Regions from separate parts of the Homo sapiens genome. Here region 1 is linked to region 2. The links are contacts of gene promoters, found by promoter capture Hi-C in human tissues and cell types (Jung and others, 2019). All regions are on one chromosome and are shown on one strand. The core of a region is centred on a gene start or on the middle of the fragment in contact, and the rest is flanking DNA. Distances in the headings are between cores, read along the strand shown. Region 1 overlaps VEZF1 (vascular endothelial zinc finger 1). Region 2 holds the start of MKS1 (MKS transition zone complex subunit 1).

Evidence for each region. The method cuts DNA at HindIII sites, captures the fragments that hold promoters and counts their contacts. A contact is called where the count stands out against the background at its distance.
Region 1: a fragment that was not itself captured here is called in contact with the fragment with the promoter of MKS1 in region 2 in 1 of the 25 tissues and cell types used here (mesendoderm cells).

What each region holds. Positions count from the first base shown.
Region 1 is chr17:57,973,343-57,978,539 of GRCh38, reverse strand. It overlaps VEZF1 (vascular endothelial zinc finger 1), which reads left to right. Exons shown (of 6, transcript NM_007146.3): 6 at 3,640-5,197. The coding sequence ends at 4,067. Among named protein-coding and RNA genes, the nearest start is that of VEZF1, 12 kb to the left of the region's middle. The HindIII fragment of the contact is 3,172 bases long and covers 185-3,356 here.
Region 2 is chr17:58,217,728-58,222,970 of GRCh38, reverse strand. MKS1 (MKS transition zone complex subunit 1) reads left to right here and starts at 3,716. Exons shown (of 18, transcript NM_017777.4): 1 at 3,716-3,820; 2 at 4,242-4,351. The coding sequence starts at 3,741. LOC105371841 (a long non-coding RNA gene) reads right to left here and starts at 3,657. Exons shown (of 2, transcript XR_934884.4): 1 at 2,912-3,657. RefSeq lists an enhancer at 3,609-3,888. The HindIII fragment of the contact is 13,166 bases long and covers 1-5,243 here.

The DNA.
Region 1 (5,197 bases), core at 521-3,020, 240 kb after region 2:
TCTCTCGTGTATATTTTCTAACGAATCAGTTGGAGTATCAGTTTTCAACGTACTTTTCAACTTACTAGTACAGCTTTGGCTTCTGGACTATTGTGCAGCCATTTCAAATGAATCATTTTGTCAATGTATCATGAGCCAAAGGACAGATTTGTAAATTCCTTCTTCCTCCTCCACCTCTACAATGTCTTACTATGTTAAATGTTAAGGAATCCTCTATCTGTGGGCTCCTCTGTATGTAATTCCTTTTCTGTGTAGTTTCTTCCATCTTTTGCTTTCATGTAGTGTGGCTCTTCCCTTCCTCAGAGTGATCCCTTCTGTTTTTTTTTTTTCTTTTTTAGACAGAGTCTCTCGCTCTGTTGCTCAGGCTTGAGTGCAGTGGCGTGATCTCGGCTCACTGCAGCCTCCGCCTCCTGGGTTCAAGTGATTCTTGTGCCTCAGCCTCCCGGGTAGCCAGGACGACAGGTGTGTGCCACCACACCCGACTAATTTTTGTATTTTTACTAGAGACAGGGTTTTGCCATGTTGGCCAGGCTAGTCTTGAACTCCTGATCTCAAGTGATCCACCCGCCTCAGACTCCTAAAGTTCTGGGATTACAGGCATGAGTCACCACACCTGGCCAGAGTGATCTCTAAACCTCCTATACTTGGATAAAAATAAAAGGAATAGCATTCTTTTTTTTTTTTTTTCTTTTTTTGAGATGGAGTTTTGCTCTTGTTGCCCAGGCTGGAGTGCAATGGCATGATCTTGTCTCACCACAACCTCCGCCTCCCAGGTTCAAGCGATTCTCCTGCCTCAGCCTCCTGAGTAGCTGGGATTACAGGCATGTGCCACCGCGCCCAGCTAATTTTGTATTTTTAGTAGAGACAGGGTTTCTCCATGTTGGTCAGGCTGGTCTCGAATTCCCGACCTCAGGTGATCTGCCCGCCTCACCCTCCCAAAGTACTGGGATTATAGGCGTGAGCTACTGGGCCCTGGCGACATTCTTTTTCATACATTTACTGGCATTGGAAGAAAAGAATGCAGCAGTCCGTATAGGCTTTTCATCATTCCTCAGGTGCTGCTTGTTCCTAGCTTCCATCTGAAGATTTGTCATTATTTTAATAAAATGTTTTGGCCAGGTGTGATGGCTCACACCTATAATTCCAGCACTTCAGGAGGCCAAGGTGGGAGGATCACTTGAGGCCAGGAGTTTGAGACCAGCCTGGGCAAGATGGCAAGACCCCATCTCTACAAAAACAACAACAACAACAAAAAATTAGCCGGACGTGACAGTGCGTGTCTGTAGTCCCCGCTACTCAGGAAGCTAAGGTGGGAGGGTCACTTGAACCCAGGAGTTTGAGGCTGCAGTGAGCTACAATTGCATCACTGCACTCCAGCCTGGACAACAGATTGAGACCCCCATCTCAAAAAAAACAAAACAAATGAACTTTTGTGTTAGAATGGGGAGAGGGGACGGGCAATGGGGAGGAAAAAGTGTAGTGCTGTGATAATTGTATAGTGGGTTGAAAGTATATTATGAAGGGTATTTTACTTAGAGAAGGAGTAAAAATGTTTAAGTCATAGTAAAAGGACACTCTTAGATTAAAAAGAAAACACGGAGGAGGAGGTAAGGGGGTCAGCAGATAAGAGAGTAAAAATTCTTTGGTGAAAGCAGGTGGAGAATATCCTCAGCAATACTCCCAGCACCTTAAAGTGAATTGGTTTTCTCTCTCAATCTCTCTCGGTGTACTCCTCTATTTGGTATTGTATTTCAATTTGCTTGCACAATAAGACTTGGTTGTTTAGCTCATCTTCTGACTTCCATGAAACAAAATGTTATTGTATTCCCATTTGTAGCGTGAATCTCTCTCAAAAAGACCACTGATCTTAGAAACCTCTGTATTCATGTTAGTAAATGTCACATTTTAGAGGAGAGGAGACTCCTGACCTGAAAATCTAAGCTTGAATCTATAACGTCCTTTAAATATTAGGCCTAAATAAGGTAACATAAGTTTTCAAACCTGATCGACAATCATATTGTCTGGGAAGCTTTTTAAAAATACACATTTCCCAAGTTCCATCTAAATTTCACTATTGATTCTCCTGGAGTCCTTTGTTTTTGTTTTGTTGGGTTTTTTTTGTTTGTTTGTTTGTTTGTTTTGAAGTCCTCTAGATAGTTGATTTTGATAATCAGCCAGATTTGGGAATCCCTGATAGGGAGAATGGTGTGTGCCAAAGTTACATTGTATTGATCAAGTAAGGGCTGCTTGACTCAAGGGTCCCCCTGCGGTGATAAGACCTTTGTGGATCATATACAGATCTCTATCTTTAGTTCAAGTATATTTCTCCATTTTGATAGCCAAGTCACAGCTAGCCTACCCATCATTTTACTGCTGTTTTCTGGTGCTGAATTTTGTTGAGGGGTGGGTTGGGGATGTCACCTTGAGGGGAAGTATTTTTTAAGAAGTGTCTAGACCTGGCTCACACCTTAATCCCAGCACTTTGGGAGGCTGAGGTGGACGGATCGCTTGAGCCTAGGAGGAGACCAGCCTGGGCAACGTGGCGAAACCCAGTCTCTACAAAAAACACAAAAATTAGCTGGGCGTGATGGCATGCACCTGTAGTCCCAGCTACTTGGTAGACTAAAGTGGGAGGATTGCTTGAGCCTTGAGGGTTTGAGGCTGCAGTAAGCTTTGATCATGCTACTGCACTCCAGCCTGAGCAACAGAAGGAGACCCTGTCTCAGAAAAAAAAGTGTCCAGGTTTTGTTGGATAAGAAGGACCAGGGTCCTCTAACTCACTGCAGGGTCTCCTTGCCTAGCTAGTTCTCTTTGGTATGCTTGGTGGTATGTGTAATATGTAGAGTTAAAGATACTAGGCATAAAATAGGTGATTGTGTCAACATCAGAAACAAGAAGAAATGGGAGTGAGGAGAACATGAACTTATTGAGGAGTATTTTTTTCTTTCCTAATGTAGTTAAGAAACATAACCAGAAAGAATAAGATTATTTAACTGAAACATATTTCTAAAACTGAAACAAACATGATACTAAAATAGCTTGTTTATCATTCCCCAATTATGCATTTTTAAAACCTTCACAGAATGTGGCTTCATGTCTCAGGCTTTAACATACTTATTGAGTATGCACACCTCTCTCTGCTAGTTACAGTGTGCCTTACGAGAAGATTTTTCTGATTATCTGTTATTGTGTAACCATTGGCCCAGCTCTGTGTAAACAAGCTCTTTAGCCTGGCCTGCTGGAGGTTGGCTCTTCCCAAGAAAGTTTTTAGAACTCAGAGGAACTGCATGAAGTAGTAGTGAGAACACTTAGCCCTGCATTGCAGAAGTTAACTGATCCTCTCAGCATCACTGTGAGGTAGGTAAGTAAATCTGAACTTGAAACCTAAAGTGCAAGGCTAAACAAGTTGCTTAAGTCCTTGCAGGAGGTATAGCATCAGAAGGTGATTCATACACTGGGATCCCTGGCCCCCAGGCTTGTGCTCAGAAAGATCCTCTGTTCTGTTGACCGCTTGATAGAAAACTGGAATTTGATTTATTAAATGTTTGACATTTTTAATGAAAAGAAATTGATTCAGAAACTTTGTGAATTTTGCTCACTGTTTTGAGAATCTAAAGACCCTTTTTCTTCTTATTTTAGAAGCTGCTAACCTGTGCCAAACCTCCACGGCTGCTACGACACCTGTGACTCTCACTACTCCATTCAGTATAACATCCTCTGTGTCGTCTGGGACTATGTCAAACCCAGTCACAGTGGCAGCTGCAATGAGCATGAGAAGTCCAGTAAATGTTTCAAGTGCAGTTAACATAACCAGCCCAATGAACATAGGGCATCCTGTAACTATAACCAGTCCATTATCCATGACCTCTCCTTTAACACTCACTACCCCAGTCAACCTCCCCACCCCCGTCACTGCCCCAGTGAATATAGCACACCCTGTCACCATCACATCTCCAATGAATCTACCCACACCTATGACATTAGCCGCCCCTCTCAATATAGCAATGAGACCTGTAGAGAGCATGCCTTTCTTGCCCCAAGCTTTGCCTACATCACCGCCTTGGTAAACAGTATTATAAAATCAAAATATGGGTAAAAGTAAATATTTACCAGCAACTTAACTTTTAGTTGATTAAAGCAAAAAGTAAACCATGAAATTGGGAGATTTTATTACATTAGTTAATAAGAGTGTGGTAGCATTTTTCTCCAATTTGGCTGGGATTATTCAAAGTAGGGTGTGTATGTAACTTATCACTGGACCACTTTAGTTTAATCAGAAATTCCTTTTAGCTGACAACATTGCTTAAACAGGATAGTAGTTGGCAAGATGAAATGCCAGAATTAAAACCAATCATAAGTAGAACCCACTTCAAAATAAAAAAACAGCATTACTATTTCTAATCCCAAGGAATCACTTTATTGTAAACACTAGCAGAACTCTTCTCCCTATACAAGGTGGATGGCTGATTTTAACCTGAAATTTTAAATCCACAGATTGAGAGCTAGTGTAGAATTGTCTGTGTTTATTGTTTTTATGAGTAAATACATGCATTGTCATAATAAAATGCATTTCAGAGAATATGCATTTTACCTTTGGGAATATGTTAATTTCAGGCAGCATTCCCTATGGGAAAGGTGATACCAGCTCTGATATGCAAAGCATATGATAATTTATCATTCTAACTTCAACGTATAATAGGGATTGTGACCTGATATTTGGAGATGTAAATATTGCTCAGCATATTAATCCCGATGGAATATAGCATTGTAGTTGACTTTTTAAAAAAAAAAAAAATTTAAAAAAAATCTACAAATTGTGTTTTGCTAAGAAAAGCCTCAACTGACAGAGGAGAAGTCAAGTGTGTGGACAGGCAAGCTCCTAATAAACAGAGTCCAGTGGGATTCCTATTTAGGAGCCAAGGAGTACTTTGGAACAGTACAAATATATTGCTTTAAATTGGAAGACGCTGGAGGCACTGGGATGTGATATGCCCCTCTCTCTCCCAATCAGAGCCTGTTGATATTACAACAGGGACAGATGTGTTAGTTGCTCACTAGAGTTTATGTCTTATATTAAATTGTATACAGTTTTTATTCTAACCACTAACTAGGTAGTGTATGCCCCTTCAGAACATGCAGAGTGTATCTTTTTTTAAATTTCTCCTTCCGTTTCTTAAGTATTGCGCAGATTTGTTCA
Region 2 (5,243 bases), core at 2,467-4,966:
AGTAGAGACAGGGTTTCACCATGTTGGCAAGGATGGTTTCAATCTCCTAATCTCTTGATCTGCCCGCCTCAGCCTCCCAAAGTGCTGGGATTACAGGCGTGATCTTTTTCAAAATTCTTTTAACCATGTAACTCCTTTGCATTTCCATATAGATGTTAAGAGTCAGCTTGTCAATTCTACAAAGAAACCTGGTGGGATTTTTACTGAGATTTAGATCATCTTGAGGATAATTACCTTAATGATATAGATTTTTCCAATCCATGGACATGTTATAGTACTCTACTTTATCCAGGTCTTCATCTTACCAATGTTTTGACATTTTAAGTGTACAAGGCTTGCACATATTTTGTTAATTTTATGTTTTGTGCTTTTGGATGTTATTTTAAATGGCTGTGATTTTTAAAATTCAAGTTCAAATGGTTTGTTCCTAGTATATAGAAATACCATTGATTTTTGTATATTGACCTTGTATTCTATAACCCTATTAGTTCTGCTGGCATTTTTGTAGATTCTTTAGGATTGTTTAGGTTCATATTGTATGTAGATATACACAATTTTACTTCTTCCTTTTAAATTATGTTCACTGCAGCGTCGACCTCCTCGGCCCACATGATCCTCCCACCTCAGCCTCCCAAGTAGCTGGGGCCACAGGCATGCACCACCAAACCTGGCTAATTTTTAAATTTTTTATAAATAAAAAATATGTTGCCCCGGTGGGTCTAAACTCCTGGGTCTAAACTCCACTGTGTCTGGCCCAAGCCATTCTTGATATCATGGTACAAACTCCTTTGAGAATCTGATAAAAGCTATGAACTCTTTCTAGAAAAATCCCCCATTCAGAATTCTAGGGAAAGGATTCATAGACTTCTTGAATCCCACTCATGGATCTCAGTTTTAAGAATCCTGGTTCATGCAAATCAAGACCACGATGAGATACCATCTCACACCAGTCAGAATGGCAATTACTAAAACGTCAGGAAGCAATAGATGCTGGCGAGGCTGTGGAGAAATAGGAACACTTTTACACTGTTGGTGGGAATATAAATTAGTTCAACCATTGTGGAAGACAGTGTGCGGATTCCTCAAGGATCTAGAACCAGAAATATCATTTGACCCAGCAATCTCATTACTGGGTATATACCCAAAGAAATATAAGCCAGTCTACTATAAAGACACATGCACACGTATGTTTACTGGAGCACTAGTTACAATGTCAAAGACATGGTACCAACCCAAATGCCCATCAGTGATAGACTGGATAAAGAAAATGTGGTACATATACACCATGTAATACTATGCAGCCATAAAAAGGAATGAGATCATGTCCTTTGGAGGGACATGGATGAAGCTGGAAGCCATCATCCTCAGCAAACTAACACAGGAACAGAAAACCAAACACTGCATGTTGTCATTCATAAGTGGGAGTTGAACAATGAGAACACATGGACGCAGGGAGGGGAACACCACACACTGGGGCCTGTCGCAAAGTCTGGGGCAGGGGGAGGGAGAGCATTAGGACAAATAACTAATGCATTCAGGGCTTAAAATCTAGGTGATGGGTTGATAGGTGCAGCAAACCACCATGGCACATGTATACTTATGTAACAAACCTGCATGTTCTGTACATGTATTCCGGAATTTAAAGTAAAAAAAAAAAAAAGGACATTCTGACACATGCTACAATATGGATTAGGTATCTAAAACAGTCAAATTTCATAGAGAGAAAATGTAGAATGGTAGTTGCCAGGGGCTGGAAGAGGGGAATGAGGAGTTACTATTTAATGGGAACAGAGTTTCAATTTTCAAAAATAAGAAAGTAGTGGCGATGGATGGTGATGATGGTTGAAAAACAAGGTAAATGTACTTAAGACCAATAAGCTGAATATTTAAACATAAAAGGATCCTGATTCATAGAAATCAGTAAACAAAACATGAAAACTTAGTTTACCTATATAAAAATAATACTAATTATGGTTGCTTACACAAATAGCTTATATTTCCATAACGTGGTATAGAAACTATTTTGCATATAATTATGTCAGATTAACTTTGTTATAAGTTAGATTTGGTTATAAAATTAAACTAGAATCAGGCTCCACTTTATCAGCTGTTGTGCATGTGGCACAGATTGCCTACTCACAATTTTAAAAGGAAACATTGGAGAGACAATTTCTTAGGAGCTAGAAAGGTGCCTTTTGTTTTATGTTAAAATTATTTCCGGCCGGGCGCGGTGGCTCACGCCTGTAATCCCAGCACTTTGGGAGGCCGAGGCGGGCGGATCACGAGGTCAGGAGATCGAGACCATCCCGGCTAAAACGGTGAAACCCCGTCTCTACTAAAAATACAAAAAATTAGCCGGGCGTAGTGGCGGGCGCCTGTAGTCCCGGCTACTTGGGAGGCTGAGGCAGGAGAATGGCGTGAACCCGGGAGGCGGAGCTTGCAGTGAGCCGAGATCCCGCCACTGCACTCCAGCCTGGGCGACAGAGCGAGACTCCGTCTCAAAAAAAAAAAAAAAAAAATTATTATTTCCCAGGTTGGAAATGTGTGCGTTTATGGAATAAATTGGTAGGTGAGAGGCTGTGAGGCAAACTGGAAGGTGGTTAGGCTTCAAAAGACAGAAGAACTTGGGCTAGAATCCCAGTACTTTTACCACTTGCAAGCTAGCAAGTCCTTTAAACCCTGGCCTTCACGAACTTCATTTTTAAAGTGAATAAAAGTACCTTTTTGAGAGGCTTCTACAAGGATTTGGGACAATGCAAACAAAAGTGCTCAAGCTGCACTAGATCCTAAATAAATGGTGCTATTTATGGTGAGTCGGTGTTACACAACTAGTGGCTATGGCACCCAGAGCTTCCAATGCCAAATCATCAAACTGGCATGAGATTCCCGAGTTCAGGGGACAATTGCTTACTTTGTTGGAGGAGGACTAGATGTGAACAAGGCTGATAAATGTTGACATTCCCAAAGTGCCGGGACGCCAGACGTGAGGTTACAGCATGTCCTTCCTTTGCTAGTACAACGAAGCATGACTTGTGAATGTCACTTTTTTGGCTTTTCAGGAAGCCAGTGCAGTAACAAAGTGGCTTAATGATCCAAAACTAACATACACAAGGTAAGAATCAGTTCAATAATAACATCGTTTCCTTCCTTACTGTTGACTTCCTTGTTTTTTCTTTCTTTGCTCAGTGAATATCAACACAAAGACTAATAAATCTTCTGACACTTTTTTTGTCTTCCAAGAATATATTTTCTTGTCTGGCTAAGGGCCATCACCTTCCCTGACTCCTTTGGGAATAATGGGTGCATTTCTTACAGTCACATCACCCGATTTTCAGGCCAAAGTTTTCACGCGTTGGGTGGAAGGCAGTGTGGCATGGTGGAAAAGGTAGAGGGCGAAGACTCAGGCCACCTGGTCCCCGTCATCATTTCTGCATCTATCTGTCTATATGAAGTGGGCTGATGGCTGTGCCAGTTTCCTCATTTGCACAGCGCACGAGGTCCCGCTTTCGGTGAGCTTTTATCGCATACATGGTAAGCGGTGATCGGTAGGACCCCGGAGCCCTCTTGGGCGTTCGGCTTGGGCTGCACTTGCACTGTGTGGCCAACTGCGACCGTGGCGCCGTGACGGGAACGGCGGGTTGCGCGCGCAGCACCTCCGTCGCCTCCCGATCCAGCGTCTCCGTTGCCAGGAAAACAGAGCGGCGCGCTTTCCGGCGCAGTCGCGGCGCGTCGCAGCTGTCATGGCGGAGACCGTCTGGAGCACTGACACCGGGGAGGCAGTGTATCGCTCCCGGGACCCCGTGCGCAACTTGCGCCTCCGGTAGTCGCACCGCCCCAGCCCCGAGGCCCCATGCTTTTGTGTCCTTAGATCATTCCAACCTGAGCTCGGTGTTCTGAGGTCCCCACTTTCTGCTTACAATCCCGACCACTTCTCCGGGCTCCCCACTTCTTTCACTATCCGTACCCCCATCCACTCACAGCCTCTAAGAACCCCTTACAGACCTACCCAAGTCCATTCACGTCTTTGTTGCTCCCAGTTTCTCAAAGCCCTGTGCCCCCAGTACACCCTCTCCCCTTCATTCTTCCCCATAGGACGGCGCACCCACCCACCTCCTCTCCGTTGTCTGCACCCAGCACACCTTGGCAACCCTACCTCCTCTGTTTTGTTTCCCCCATCCTTGCTTTGTGTTCATCTCCTGGTTGCGTGTCTGGTAACGAATATTTTGGGCTTTTCTTGACAGAGTCCACCTGCAAAGAATCACATCAAGCAACTTTCTTCATTATCAGCCTGCTGCCGAGCTCGGGAAGGACCTCATAGACTTGGCCACTTTTAGGCCTCAGCCAACTGCCAGTGGGTGTTACGGTGGTGATGTGCCATCTAATACTAATTATGATACTAATCAGAATTGTGGCCAAATGTAGTGAGATAACAAATACTATACTTCTGATATGTTATAGAGTTGCCCGGCAACCTACATTCTATTTGTGGCTTTTTTTTTTTTTTTTTTTTTTTTTTTTTTTTTGAGACGGAGTCTTGCTCTTTCCCCCAGGCTGAAGTGCAGTGTCGCTATCTCCGCTCACTGCAAGCTCCGCCTCCCGGGTTCACGCGATTCTCCTGCCTCAGCCTCCCGAGTAGCTGGGACTACAGGCGCCCGCCACCACGCCCGGCTAATTTTTTGTATTTTCAGTAGAGGCGGGGTTTCACCGTGTTAGCCAGGATTGTCTCGATCTCCTGACCTCGTGATCCGCCCGCCTTGGCCTCCCAAAGTGCTGGGATTACAGGCGTGAGCCACCGCGCCCGTCCTATTTGTGGCATTTTTAAAAGAGAAAACGTGCCCCAAACCCTAAATACACATATAAACACTTTTAAAAACAATTTTTAAACTGGAGACTGCTTGCAAAATCTGCATATGATGTGCATGTATAGATCAACTGTGTTCTTGTGGTTTTCCTTATCTGGGAAACCAAAAGAATGAGGAGGAGAGGACAGAGTGGTTGTTGTCAGGTCACTAGTCTGTTTGCTTTTATTGTTTCTCTTTCTGTTCAGAGCTGTTCCTGGGCAAGAGTGTGGGCTCACAGGTTGTGAAACGTGTCTCTGAAAAAGGCATACCCAAGAGTGTATTAGATTAGATTTGTTTTCTTTGTTTTTGTTTTCGTTTTGTTTTGAGACAGAATCTCATTCTTCTGCTCAGGCTGGAGTGCAGTGGTATGATCATAGCTCACTGTAAACCTTGGTCTCCCAG